Linked DNA regions of Homo sapiens: region 2 is linked to region 1. The links are contacts of gene promoters, found by promoter capture Hi-C in blood cells and fetal thymus (Javierre and others, 2016). All regions are on one chromosome and are shown on one strand. The core of a region is centred on a gene start or on the middle of the fragment in contact, and the rest is flanking DNA. Distances in the headings are between cores, read along the strand shown. Region 1 holds the start of SULT4A1 (sulfotransferase family 4A member 1). Region 2 has its middle 25 kb from the start of SCUBE1.

The links. The method cuts DNA at HindIII sites, captures the fragments that hold promoters and counts their contacts. A CHiCAGO score of 5 or more calls a contact.
Region 2: a contact is called between a fragment that was not itself captured here and the fragment with the promoter of SULT4A1 in region 1, in 1 of 17 cell types (endothelial precursors). The highest score is 6.3, in endothelial precursors.

Annotation. Positions count from the first base shown.
Region 1 is chr22:43,858,367-43,863,943 of GRCh38, forward strand. SULT4A1 (sulfotransferase family 4A member 1) reads right to left here and starts at 4,147. Exons shown (of 7, transcript NM_014351.4): 1 at 3,848-4,147. The coding sequence starts at 4,016. RefSeq lists an enhancer at 1,963-2,462. The HindIII fragment of the contact is 4,757 bases long and covers 971-5,577 here.
Region 2 is chr22:43,365,590-43,371,555 of GRCh38, forward strand. No RefSeq gene overlaps it. Among named protein-coding and RNA genes, the nearest start is that of SCUBE1, 25 kb to the left of the region's middle. RefSeq lists an enhancer at 4,044-4,545. The HindIII fragment of the contact is 4,109 bases long and covers 2,131-5,966 here.

The DNA.
Region 1 (5,577 bases), core at 2,897-5,396:
GAGTGATGGGGAGAAACGTGACCCCCGCAGACCCAGGACACTTGCTTTGGCAGCCCCTTCCCCAGGTCAAGCCTCCTGAGTATGTGTAACAGCCGGAAGACAAAGGGGAAGGGATGAGGGAGCAAGAGGAGAAAGATGGGGAAAGAGGAACTTCTCAGTTCTTCTGGTACAAAACCACACGTTCCATTCTTCAGGCCTCTGCATTCCCTCATAGGACGCAGGTAACTCACCACACTGCTGTGGAACACTTTGTTACCCTGTGTGGTAAAGCTCAAAGGGCTCCGCATGCTCCCTCATCTCAGAACAAACTGGTAACCCAGGAAGCGCTGGCAGGTGCTAGCTCCCACCCCCACGCCTCTCTTACCCCCTCCTGTGGGTGGTTTCTCTCCAGGATCTACACTCGGTGCTGCCACTACCCCAGCCCTTTGTCCTCCCTAGGCCCTCATTTTCACATCTATAAAAAGGAAATAATCACAAGAGCACAGGGCCGTCCTGAGAATCAAAGTGGGTGGAGGGCAAAACAGCATCTGTAATGGGTAATCCACCCAACCTGTCTCCTCCTCCATGCAGTCTCCCGAGATCCTCCTCTTCAGAACCCTCATTACCAGGCCATTTACCTGACCCTGAGAACAGCCACCCTGGCTTGTCAGTTAACTTTTCAGTGTTAGGATTCTGGCTTCCCCCATGTCACTGCAAGTGCCACAAGGTCACCATCACCTCATGCCCAGCCCTTCTGAAACCTGTCTCTCCCAGGCACAGTGACATACACACCAAGAAAACTAGGACATCCATCTAGCCTGGGACCTGCACACCATGAGTCTCCCCTCAGCTTCAGCTCCCCTCAGCTTCAACCCCTGAGTTGTCTGAAAATGTAAGACTTAAATGAATCAATCTGGTCAAATCCTCTCATTTTTAATGAGCAAACTGAGGTTCAAAGAAACCAGGTGGCTCACCCACGCCCAGGCCCAGAAGCTTCCGTCTGCATCAGTGAGAATGCGCACACACTTCAGGACTGGCCGGAACCAGGGGCAAAATAAACTCAGGGCAGTGGGTGCTCTGGCTGAGCCAGGGACCGTATTTCAAAGCCCAAGCTCCATGACTTTGGGGCTGTGCCCCCTCGGGGACGAGCACCCAATTCAAATCAACCTGTTGACAAAACCAGTGGCAGTGATTGCATCAAACCAACACACAGGGACAAAATATTTTCACAGACACAATCGGATTTAATACAACCACCGTCCCAGGACCAACTACGCTGTAAGAATGAATAGGAACAAAGTCGGTCATCAACAGAAAGGTCCTTCTCAGAAGACACAATGGGCTCCTACTGTCTGGATCACGGTTTTACCTGGCGCTGTGCAGCAGAACTTTCAGCTGTGATGGGAACACTCCATATCTGCGCCACCCAATACGGCAGCCGCTAGCCCCATGTGGCTACTGAGCACCTGAAACATGGTGATGCTACTGAGGAACAGAATTTCCACTTTTATTTCATTTTAATTCATTAGATGTAAGCAGCCGCCTGTGGGCAGAGGGTCCTACGCTGGAGAGCACAGTCCTAACCCGCCATCTAAGCTAGAATGTCGCAAGCACAAAAAGAATCCGAGCAAGCAGCACGGGGTTGTGGGAAAAAATACCGGACAGGAAGCGAAGGCAGGATCTAATTATCATTGCCTTAGCCACCAGAAAGCCCCCACCACCCCTTTGAACCCCAGTTTCTCCATCAGCAGAGGGTGGGAAGGGGCTGACAAGGGACCAGGCCCTTCCGGCTCTGACCACCTGCAAGTTCATTAGGATCTCCTACACCTGGGCACTGGAAATCCAAGGAGGCCCGTGGGTTCCCTGCCATGGCAGGTGAATGGGGCACCTGTTAGTCCTGGCTACTTGCCCCAACCCCAGCACCAACCATGTCTCCCCCATCAGACTGAGAGCTCACTAAGGACAGGCACCAGATGGGGCCCTCTCGGCTTCCCCAGCCCCTAGCAAAGCATCTGGGCACAACAGGTGTTCAGGGCTTAAAAGTCAGCATTAACCACGAGCCTTTCCAGCGTGTGTCTGGACGTGGGCTAAGCGTTCTCACCCGCCATTTTGCTCATCCTCACAGCCACACATCAGCGGGCCGAGGTGGTCTCTTCTCCCTCCGCAGAGACCACAGCTCAATGGGATTCTATGATCTGCCCAGGGTCACTCTGCTGGTAAGCCGCAAAACTGCATTCAAACCCAGGACTTCCAACTCCGAAGCCAGGTTCTTAATGTGTAAGCACTGATGCCTGCTACAAATCCATCCCCAGTAGCAGATGGAAGGAAAGGAAAAGAAAATATGAACTGGGCTACCAGAAGTCCACTTGGAGGGGCCTCAGAGAAGTGACACAAACCTCAAAATCCCTAAGTGGCTGAGACTTCCAGCATTTTAAAGCCTCCAAGAAAGAAGGCTAGGTCCCCCTCCTTCTTGGGCCCTCACGGTTTTCCAAGGGCAACGGAGCACCCATAAGGCAGGGGAGAGGCTGGCCGTGGACCGGGAGACCTAGCTAGACCTGACCTCTGTCCCTCAGCAACTGTGTGACTCCGAACAATTTGTGCCTTCTCTGAGCCTCTGAAAAAAAGGTGTAAGAGTCCCTCACAGATTAACAGCGATAGAGCACTTGGCCCGCAGGACTTAATGAGTGGCCACAGAAGCCAACGACACGCTTAGCCATTCCTAAAGCATTTTAGGTCCCACCCCATGCGGCGACTGGCATGTGCTCAAGATAGCAGCCCATCGAACGCTCTGTTCTCCAACCAACACCCTCCACTGAGAGTCCCTACTCCAATCTTCCTCAGAAGAATGTCAGAGACCTGCCCTCAGGTGTCTGGAACTCCATACAGCTACAACAGCCAAGCCTACAGCTTTTCCTGAAACTGCCCGACTGCTGGTCCGGCGTGACCTTAGAGCCAGACACCTTCTAAACCACGCTGTGATTGCCTCAAATACAGTGGCAACAAGGAAATCCCAGGGCATGTTTACAGAACAGGAAAGCTGCTACCTCCTTTCCCTAAAAACCTCAGATGGGGTACTATACAATCTCCTACCTCAGGTCTGGAAACAGACCAGCCTAGCTTTAATTCCCAGGTCAGCCACTCACCAGCTGAGTGACCTTGGACCAGCCTCTTCCCCTCTCTGAGCCTCTGTGCCTAGACTGTAAAGTGGGAATGACCACCACTAGCTCACACAGCTGTTATTGTGAAAGTGACGTCAGCTAATGCTGGGAAATGTGAATGCCCCAGGTCCTGCCTCGGTGATGGAGGCAGCCCTGAAACAAGAGAATGTACAAGCAAGGCACTCCAGGCGGGGACTGGTCCCATCCCCCACCCGGAGCCCAGGCTGGAAAGGAGGGACGTTACGTTTCCACGCTGAAAGCCCTGACGCCCATGTTATCTCCCTTCCCAGGTGAACACCAGGACTTTGCACTCATCAAAGGTTGGGCAGGATTCAGGAACAGAGAGGTTGAGTGACCTGTCCAAGGTCACACAGCCAGCCAGGTAAAGGGAGAAGCAGGGATGGGTGGCGGCCCTGGGCCCATCCTCCTGCAGCGCCGGCCAAATAGGCTCCATCTCCACGGAAGGGGCCGCTCCCGAAGGTCTCTGACCTTGGTTTCCCCAGATGAGAACCAAGCCCCTTCCCACCCCCACCCCACCCCACCCCGCCCCGCAGGGATCCGAGCATCGGGAGAGCGGTGGGCACGGCAGGGGCGGAGGCCAAGGGCGACCACCCGGCCCAGCAGAAGCCCCGGGCGCGGGCGCGGCGTCTACGCGGCCGCGCTGCAGGGCTGGGGCATGGCGTGGCGGGCGCGGTCGGCGCGGGGCTCACCGGACTTGGGGTAGGTGACGATCCACACGTCGCTGGGCCGCACCGGGAAGTTGGCGATCTCCTCCATCTTCCCGCGGCAGAAGGGCGGCAGCCGCACGCCATGGAACTCGAAGTACTTGCTCTCGAACTCCCCCGGGGTGCTGGGGGTCTCGGCCTCGCTCTCCGCCATGCCGCCGCCGTCGCCGTCGCCGCCGCCGCCTCCCGGCTCGCAGCCCGCACGCGCCCGCGCCCGCGCCCGCGCCCGCGCCCCGCACACGCTCGCGCCCCACCGGCGCGCGGCGGCAGCTCCGCAGGCGTGACGTCATGGCGCCGCCGACGCGCGGCGGAGGCTCCGCGGGTATGACGTCATGGCGCCGCCCGGCACGCGGCCGCGGCGCTGCACGGGCGTGACGTCATGGCGCCGCGGAGCCGCGTCCTCCCCGCCCCGCCCCCGGCCGGGGTCACCCACCCGCTGCCGGGGCTGACAGAGACCCTGGCCCGCGGTCTGCAGCCTCCTCAGTCGTGCGTGCGTTCATTCCGCTCATAGCTTCTGTCACTCAGCAAGCGCTCAACACAGACGCATGAGATACCCTGGCTGGAAGGCCCTGAAAGGTAGTCGTCCATTCAACACGTGCTTAGCGCGCTGCTGATCTGTGCCAGGCACTGGGCCAGGGCCCCGACACGCGTCAGGGTAGAAGCAAGCAGAAGCCTGGCCCTGTTGGAGCTTACATTGGTAAATAACCAAGATAATTTCAGGTAAATATTAGGTCCTATTAAAAATATGCGTCTTCGCCAGGCGCGGTGGATCACGCCTGTAATCTCAGCACTTTGAGAGGTCGAGCACGGGCGGATCTCCTGAGGTCAAGAGTTCGAGACCAACCTGGGTAAATGGTGAAACCGCATCTCTACAAACATACAAAAAAAAAAATTAGCAGTGAGCTGTGAGCTTGCACCACTGCACTCCAGTCTGGGCAACAGGACGAGATCTTCTAACAACAACAAAAAAAAAGTATGGGCCACCTAGTCCAGCCAAAAAAACAAAGTGCTTTTTTTTTGCTTTTTTTTTTTTTTTTTTTTTTTTGAGATGGAGTCTCGCTGTGTCGCCCAGGCTGGAGTGCAGGGGCGCGATCTCAGCTCACTGCAAGCTCCACCTCCCGGGTTTACGCCATTCTCCTGGCTCAGCCTCCCGAGTAGCTGGGACTACAGGCACATGCCACCATGCCTGGCTAATTTTTTGTATTTTTTGTTTGTTTGTTTTAGTAGAGACGGGGTTTCATCGTGTTAGCCAGGATGGTCTCAATCTCCTGACCTCGTGATCTGCCCACCTTGGCCTCCCAAAGTGCTGGGATTACAGGTGTGAACCACCTCGCCCAGCCAAAAAGTGCTTCTTAATATCCCATGAGTAGGGGAGGGGAGTGTTGGATTGCAAATTCCAGGACCCCAGATCTATGGAGAAAAATTACAAAAATATACATTTAGTAAGGCACTTCTTGTGCAAACTATAATTTGAGAGCAACCGAGTTCTAGAGATCTCAGTGCAACCCCTTGCCAGTCATGCACTCAACAGACATATATGAAGCACCTACTAACATGCCTGGGGAAGCACAAAGATGAAAACAACACAGCCTGCTCTCATTCTCTGCAGCCGAGCATCATCAGCTGTGTAAAGGAAAAGAATGATTCCTACCTCTAAGTAGTGTAGCCAGGAAGATGGAAGGAGTTTACACCAACAAGAATCTGGAGCAGAGTGG
Region 2 (5,966 bases), core at 2,935-5,434, 490 kb before region 1:
TCCAGTCTTTTTCTTCATCCGTGCATACCTACCCAACCTTAATTGTAATTATACTTGCTCTATTTTGAATATGCTTGCTTTGTCTTAGATTCTCTAAGAATCACCAAGCTGGAATGCTTTGATGAAGGCTTATAGATTTCCCTGTTATAACCCTATGGCCTCTGATTCCTGCACCTCATTGCACACTATAGATTATGCGGAAGGGCACACACAATTGGTGGTAAAGGAAGTCATTAGAGATGGGTGGGAGACCTTGTGGGTGAACAAAGGCCAGCAGGAGGGGGAGCCCCTGGATAAGGTATGTGGTCAAGGCTTGGTTTGCAGGAGATAGAAACTGGGTGTCTGGCCAGACCATGGAGAGAGAGGCTGGAGCCAGAATCTGGAGGCTCAAGGTCAGAATCAGTGAAGGGAGTCAGCCTTAATTCCCTAGGCGATGGGGAGCCACAGATGGTTCAGGTCAAGATTGGTGTTTGAATGGCTCACATTTAAGACACCAGGAAAGGCAGCCCTGGGGTCCAACATCACTTATGGCAGGAAAGCGACCACCTTTGCAACAGAATTGGCTTCCTAACCTTCCTCAGCTGCAGCTTGGGAATGAGACCAGAGTCCTGAATTCGTGGGCTGGGCCAGGCTGGAGCTCCCGATGTGTGTTTGCTTCTCTGGTGTGTAGGAGGGAAGAGTGGGCAGGGGTGACCGCCCACCCACCCCAGACACACAGAGGTAAGATCACCTCACTCAGCTTTGTCATTTGGTGAGTAAGTTTGAAAAATATCAATTTATTTCATTCTCCTGTTTCACAGATGGGAAAACTGAGGCCCAGGGAGGGAAGGGGATGAGCTGAGGAGCTTGTGGTAGGTAAGTGGCAAAGGTGAAGAAATCAAAATGTCTTACATTTGTACCACAACTTGCAATTTCCTGACAATCCCCCTACTCACCCCACCCCACTCCACCCCACTGCCCCCTTTTTTTTTTTTTCTGAGACGGAGTCTCACTGTGTCCCCCAGGCTGGAGTGCAGTGGTGTGATCGTGGCTCACTGCAAGCTCCGCCTCCTGGGTTCATGCCATTCTCCTGCCTCAGCCTCCCGGTAGCTGGGACTACAGGCGCCTGCCACCACGCCTGGCTAATTTTTTGTATTTTTAGTAGAGATGGGGTTTCACAGTGTTAGCCAGGATGGTCTCGATCTCCTGACCTCGTGATCCGCCCGCCTTGGCCTCCCAAAGTGCTGGGATTACAGGCGTGAGCCACCGCACCTGGCCCCCACTGCCCTTTTAAAAAATATACTTAACAATGAAAACAAAACAATATTAATGCTATAATTTTTGCTGCTGGAGAAGGTATAGGAACACAGCTCACATACAATTGGTCAGAGTATAAACGACTGTAACCCTACGGGAGGCAGTTTGGAAACATCTTTCAAAATTTTCATAGCAAACCAGCATTTACTGCGAAGTTCCATTGCCAAGAATTTCTACTACAAATGTGTTTACACATGGATGCAAAGATGTGTGTACAAGGATGTTCATCATGGTACCACTTTTCATTCTAAACTGGGAGGAAAAAAACCCTAAATGTCCATAAACAGGGACTGGTTGAATAAATGTTGCTACATCCACACATGAAGTATTATACAGCCATTAAAAGGAGTGGAATAGACCAATTCATACTCCCACTACAGTGTTTGAGAATGGCTATTTTTCCATATATTTGGGGTATTTTCAAACTTACAAATCTTGGCCAATTGGATAGGTTTTTAACCTATCCCCAAAGGGCATTGTATTGTTTCTTGATGATGAGTGAGCTTGAACATTTTTCATATGGCTACCATTTACTTGAATTTGTTTTTCTGGGAGTTGCTTTTTCATATTCAGATTTTGTCAATTATCTGTTAGGTTTTAAGTCTTTCTTTCATTTACTTGTATAAACATGTTCTAAATTAAAGCAATTAATTCTGTGAATGTCAGTCCCTGTTCAGCTCTGTCTTGACTTGGTATATACCTTTTTTATTCACCTAGAAATGAAAAAATGTTACGTAGTCAAAATTGTTGCACTTTGATTTTTTGATATAGAAGGTCTTTTCTAAATAGTTGAATCAGTTCTCCTTTTCCTTCATGATTTCCTCAATCATTTAAAGCTTGCAAGGTTCTCATTCCTTTAGAGTCCGGTTCAATATTCCTTTATTGTTTTGGCCAGCCTAAGATTTGATTTGCTTTATAAATAATTTATTCTTTAGTATATGTGGAAAATGGACTTAAACTTATGTTTCTTTTCATGATGTCCCAACTTCACAGTCTGAATGTTCTTCCCATTGTTCATTGTCCAGAGAAGACACCATTATCACGTATTGAACTGTTTTATGGAGGAAAGCCTGTTTCTCATCTCCCCATTAATCATGTATTTTAATATCAGAGAGGGCTTATTCCCCATCTTTTTCAAAATATTCTTGGGACTTCTCACCCATTGATTTCCCCAAATGAATTTTATTGTGGCTTCTGTGTTCTGTATCCTGCCTATAAAGATCTTTCCTTTCCAAAGATTGTAAGTTCACCTATGTTTCTTTTAGAATTTTTAAGGTTCAATTTTTTGGTTTAAATTTTGGACCCATGTGGAACTGATCTGGGTGTAGGGGGTGAGGTAGGGATTCTGTTTTATTTTTTCCAGATGGCCGCTACCCACTTATCTCTATGCCTTACTTTGAACAATGCACCTTTCCCCTCCGATGTGAAATTCCTTCTCTCATTCACGTGCTGAAATCCTACATATTTCCATCCATTTCTGCACTCGCGTCTGGATGGAACTGTCTACTTCTTTTCCAGGGCTAAACTTTAAAAGTTATTGTACTTTCCTAAGATGTTTTAACATCTGGTAAAGCCAGCCCTCCTCCACTACTTTTGTTTTTCCTCAGAATTTCCCTGGCTGGTCTCGCACGTTTATTTTTCCAGATGAAATTTGGTATCATTTCGTCAAGTTCCAAAAAATAAAAGAAAATAAAAACCCTGTTGGTTTAAGGCTTTTCTTACCAGCCAGTGTAGTGTTTTCACAGATTATTGATATTAACCCTTTGCCATTCATTTGGTTGTCAATTTAGTTCCCCTCTACCCCCATTAGTTTTTTATTCTGTGGTATGGGAGATTTGTTTTTTGTTTTTATATAGTCGTCAATCACTTTTGCTTCTCCTCAAAAAAAAAATCTCCTTAATGATTTTAAAGCTCGAAGACTTCCCATTCCTCCTGAGATCTGGTTAATATTCACTTATATTTTTGACCAGCCCTCCTAGGGTTTGCTTTGCTTGATAAATAATTTATTTTTTTCAGCATCTGTGAAAGATATGAAGAAGGCATCCAAGCTGATTTTTTTTTTTTTTTGAGATGGAGTTCTGTTCTTTTTGCCTAGGCTGAGTGCAATGGTGTGATCTTGGCTCACTGCAACCTCCGCCTCCCCGGTTCAAGCGATTCTCCTGCCTCAGCCTCCCAAGTAGCTGGAATTGCAGGCATGCACCACCACGCCTGGCTAATTTTGTATTTTTAGTAGAGACGGGGTTTCTGCATGTTGGTCAGGCTGGTCTTGAACACCTGACCTCAGGTGATCCACCTGCCTCGGCCTCCCAAAGTGGTGGGATTACAGGTGTGAGCCACTGCGCCCGACCCCCAAGCTGCTTTTATATTGGCTACTCCTTCCATTGTTCTTTGCCCACTGAAGACAGCTTGGTCATGTATTAAATTCATGTACATGAGAACATTTCTCTGCTCTCTGGTCAGTTCCATTCATGCCAGCTCTGCTGTTTAATCAGAGACTTAATCATCTATTTGAACATCTGAGAGGGCTGATTGCGCACATTTCTCAAAATATTCTTTGGATTTCTCACCCTTTTATTTCCCAAAATACCCCAGCCTGCATGATTCATTTGGCCCTCGAAGGAACCCTGAGAAGTATTAATTCCACTAGCTGGATGTGCTGGGGTTCAAAAATTGCTAAGGGCCAGATGAGACGACACCGTTATCATAGCTGTGAGAGGGAAAAGTTTGCCTCTGCATCTGAAACTCCCAGAGGAAGGAGGTTGTCTCCATTACTGAGTTTGACAGGAAGAGAAAAAGAGGGGCGTGGTGGATATGCAGTGGTGTCTAATACTCAGCCTCAGATGATCTGTTGTGGGGGCCATCACTTGGCCCTCTTACGTAAAAGCTGCCGCCCACAGTGAGTCAGTGTGGGGGACATCTGGGAAAGAGGCAGGGAGTCCCATCTGGACTGGGGAGTGGGGACCAGGGTGGGATTGGAGATGGGATGAGGGTCTCCTGCCTCCCTGGGGCACCACTGCTCTGTGGATTCTACTTTGTCTCTGTGACCTCAGGTGCTTGGTGTGTCTCTTGGGGGCCTCTTATGTCCGTGCCCATGTCATTAGCGTGTGAGGTGACAGCCCTCTGCCGCCCCAGCTTCTTTTTTGGAGCACGGGTCTCAGATGAGGGGCTGGCTGAGCAGCTGTGGGAGGACCCCTCATTTGCAACTGACATCGATAGGTCAAGCCCAGCAGCCCCTGAATGAGCAGGAAGATTGGTGCAGCTGGGGTCTTCCACAGGCAGGCGATTCCCTCCCTGCTGGGATCGTCAACCAATCTGGGGCCGTAACTCACACGGGGAACCACCCCCAACCCCCAACCACCGTGCTTGGTGTTGGAGGGCCAGAGGGTGTCTCCCAAGTCAAAGACAAAGTCTCCAGGGCAAACAGGAAAAGCCATGGCTACCCCGTCCCCGGGGCCTCACCTGGCAGCCCTGGCTTGCAGGCTCTGTCTAGGATCCGGGAACAGTGTTTATTTCTTCTCTTTATTTTTAGCTTTTATTTTCATGAAACTTATACAGGCAAATAGCTCTACAAGGTTTGTTAAGAGGAACAGCAGTTCCCTGTTCCTGTCCTTCACCCCCTCCTGTCCCCTCCCCAGAGGCAACTATTTCACCTCCTTTAACCAATTATTTTGTTTTTACCCTGTGTCATTTGCCTCTGAGACTGCATCTTTTTTTTTTTTTTTTTGTGACGGAGTCTTTGCTCTGTCGCCCAGACTGGAGTGCAGTGGCATGATCTCGGCTTATTGTAATCTCTTCCTCCTGGGTTCAAGTGATTTTCCTGCCTCAGCCTCTTGAGTAGCTGGGATTACAGGCGCCCGCCACCACACCTGGCTGATTTTTGTATTTTTAGTACAGGTGGGGTTTTGCCATGTTGCTCAGGCTGGTCTTGAACTCCTGACCTCAGGTGATCTGCCTGCCTCAGCCTCCCAAAGTGCTGGGATTACAGGCATGAGCCACTCTGCCTGGCCTCTGAGACTCCATCTTGATTTTTTTTTTTTTTAGTTGTCAGCCTCATTGGTTGACCTCTGTTTCTGGAAGGTGAGGATATCGCTGCCTCCTGACCCCTACTCACTGTGCGCACCTGCCCCCCACCCTCAGACCTGTTTTTAGGACACCAGCATTGTCAGTGGTGAAGGGCATGGAGTTCTAAGCCACTTTTCCGGGTTCTAGTCCTCCTTCTGCCACTTAGCTGTGTGATCCTGGACAAATTCTTCAGCCTCTTGGTTGATTGCCTTCTACCTGGCCTTGCTTTCAATGAGTCAATTCATGTAAATGGCTTCCAGCAGCAAATAAATGACTGTCCTCTTTGTCAACCTTTTCCGCACAGTCGCACTCCCTACCCCGACCCCAGCAAATCATTTTCGTGGTTTCTCCTTTGCATCGTTCTCTAGACAATTGTTGCTAGTTCAGTCCTGCCCTTTCCTCGCAGGGCTTCGAGATGCACTGGGGTCTTCACGCCCATCTGCCCAGGGAAGCTGGAGCCTGGTGCCCCATGCCTATAGGGCATCCCGCCTCCAGCAACCTGGGATCCCCCTTGCCTTTCTCTTTTTCCCATATCCCATATTTTCCTCTTTCTTGATTTAGCCCTTATTCTAGTGAAGTATCTTCTCTAGTAATCTTCAGAGAAAGCA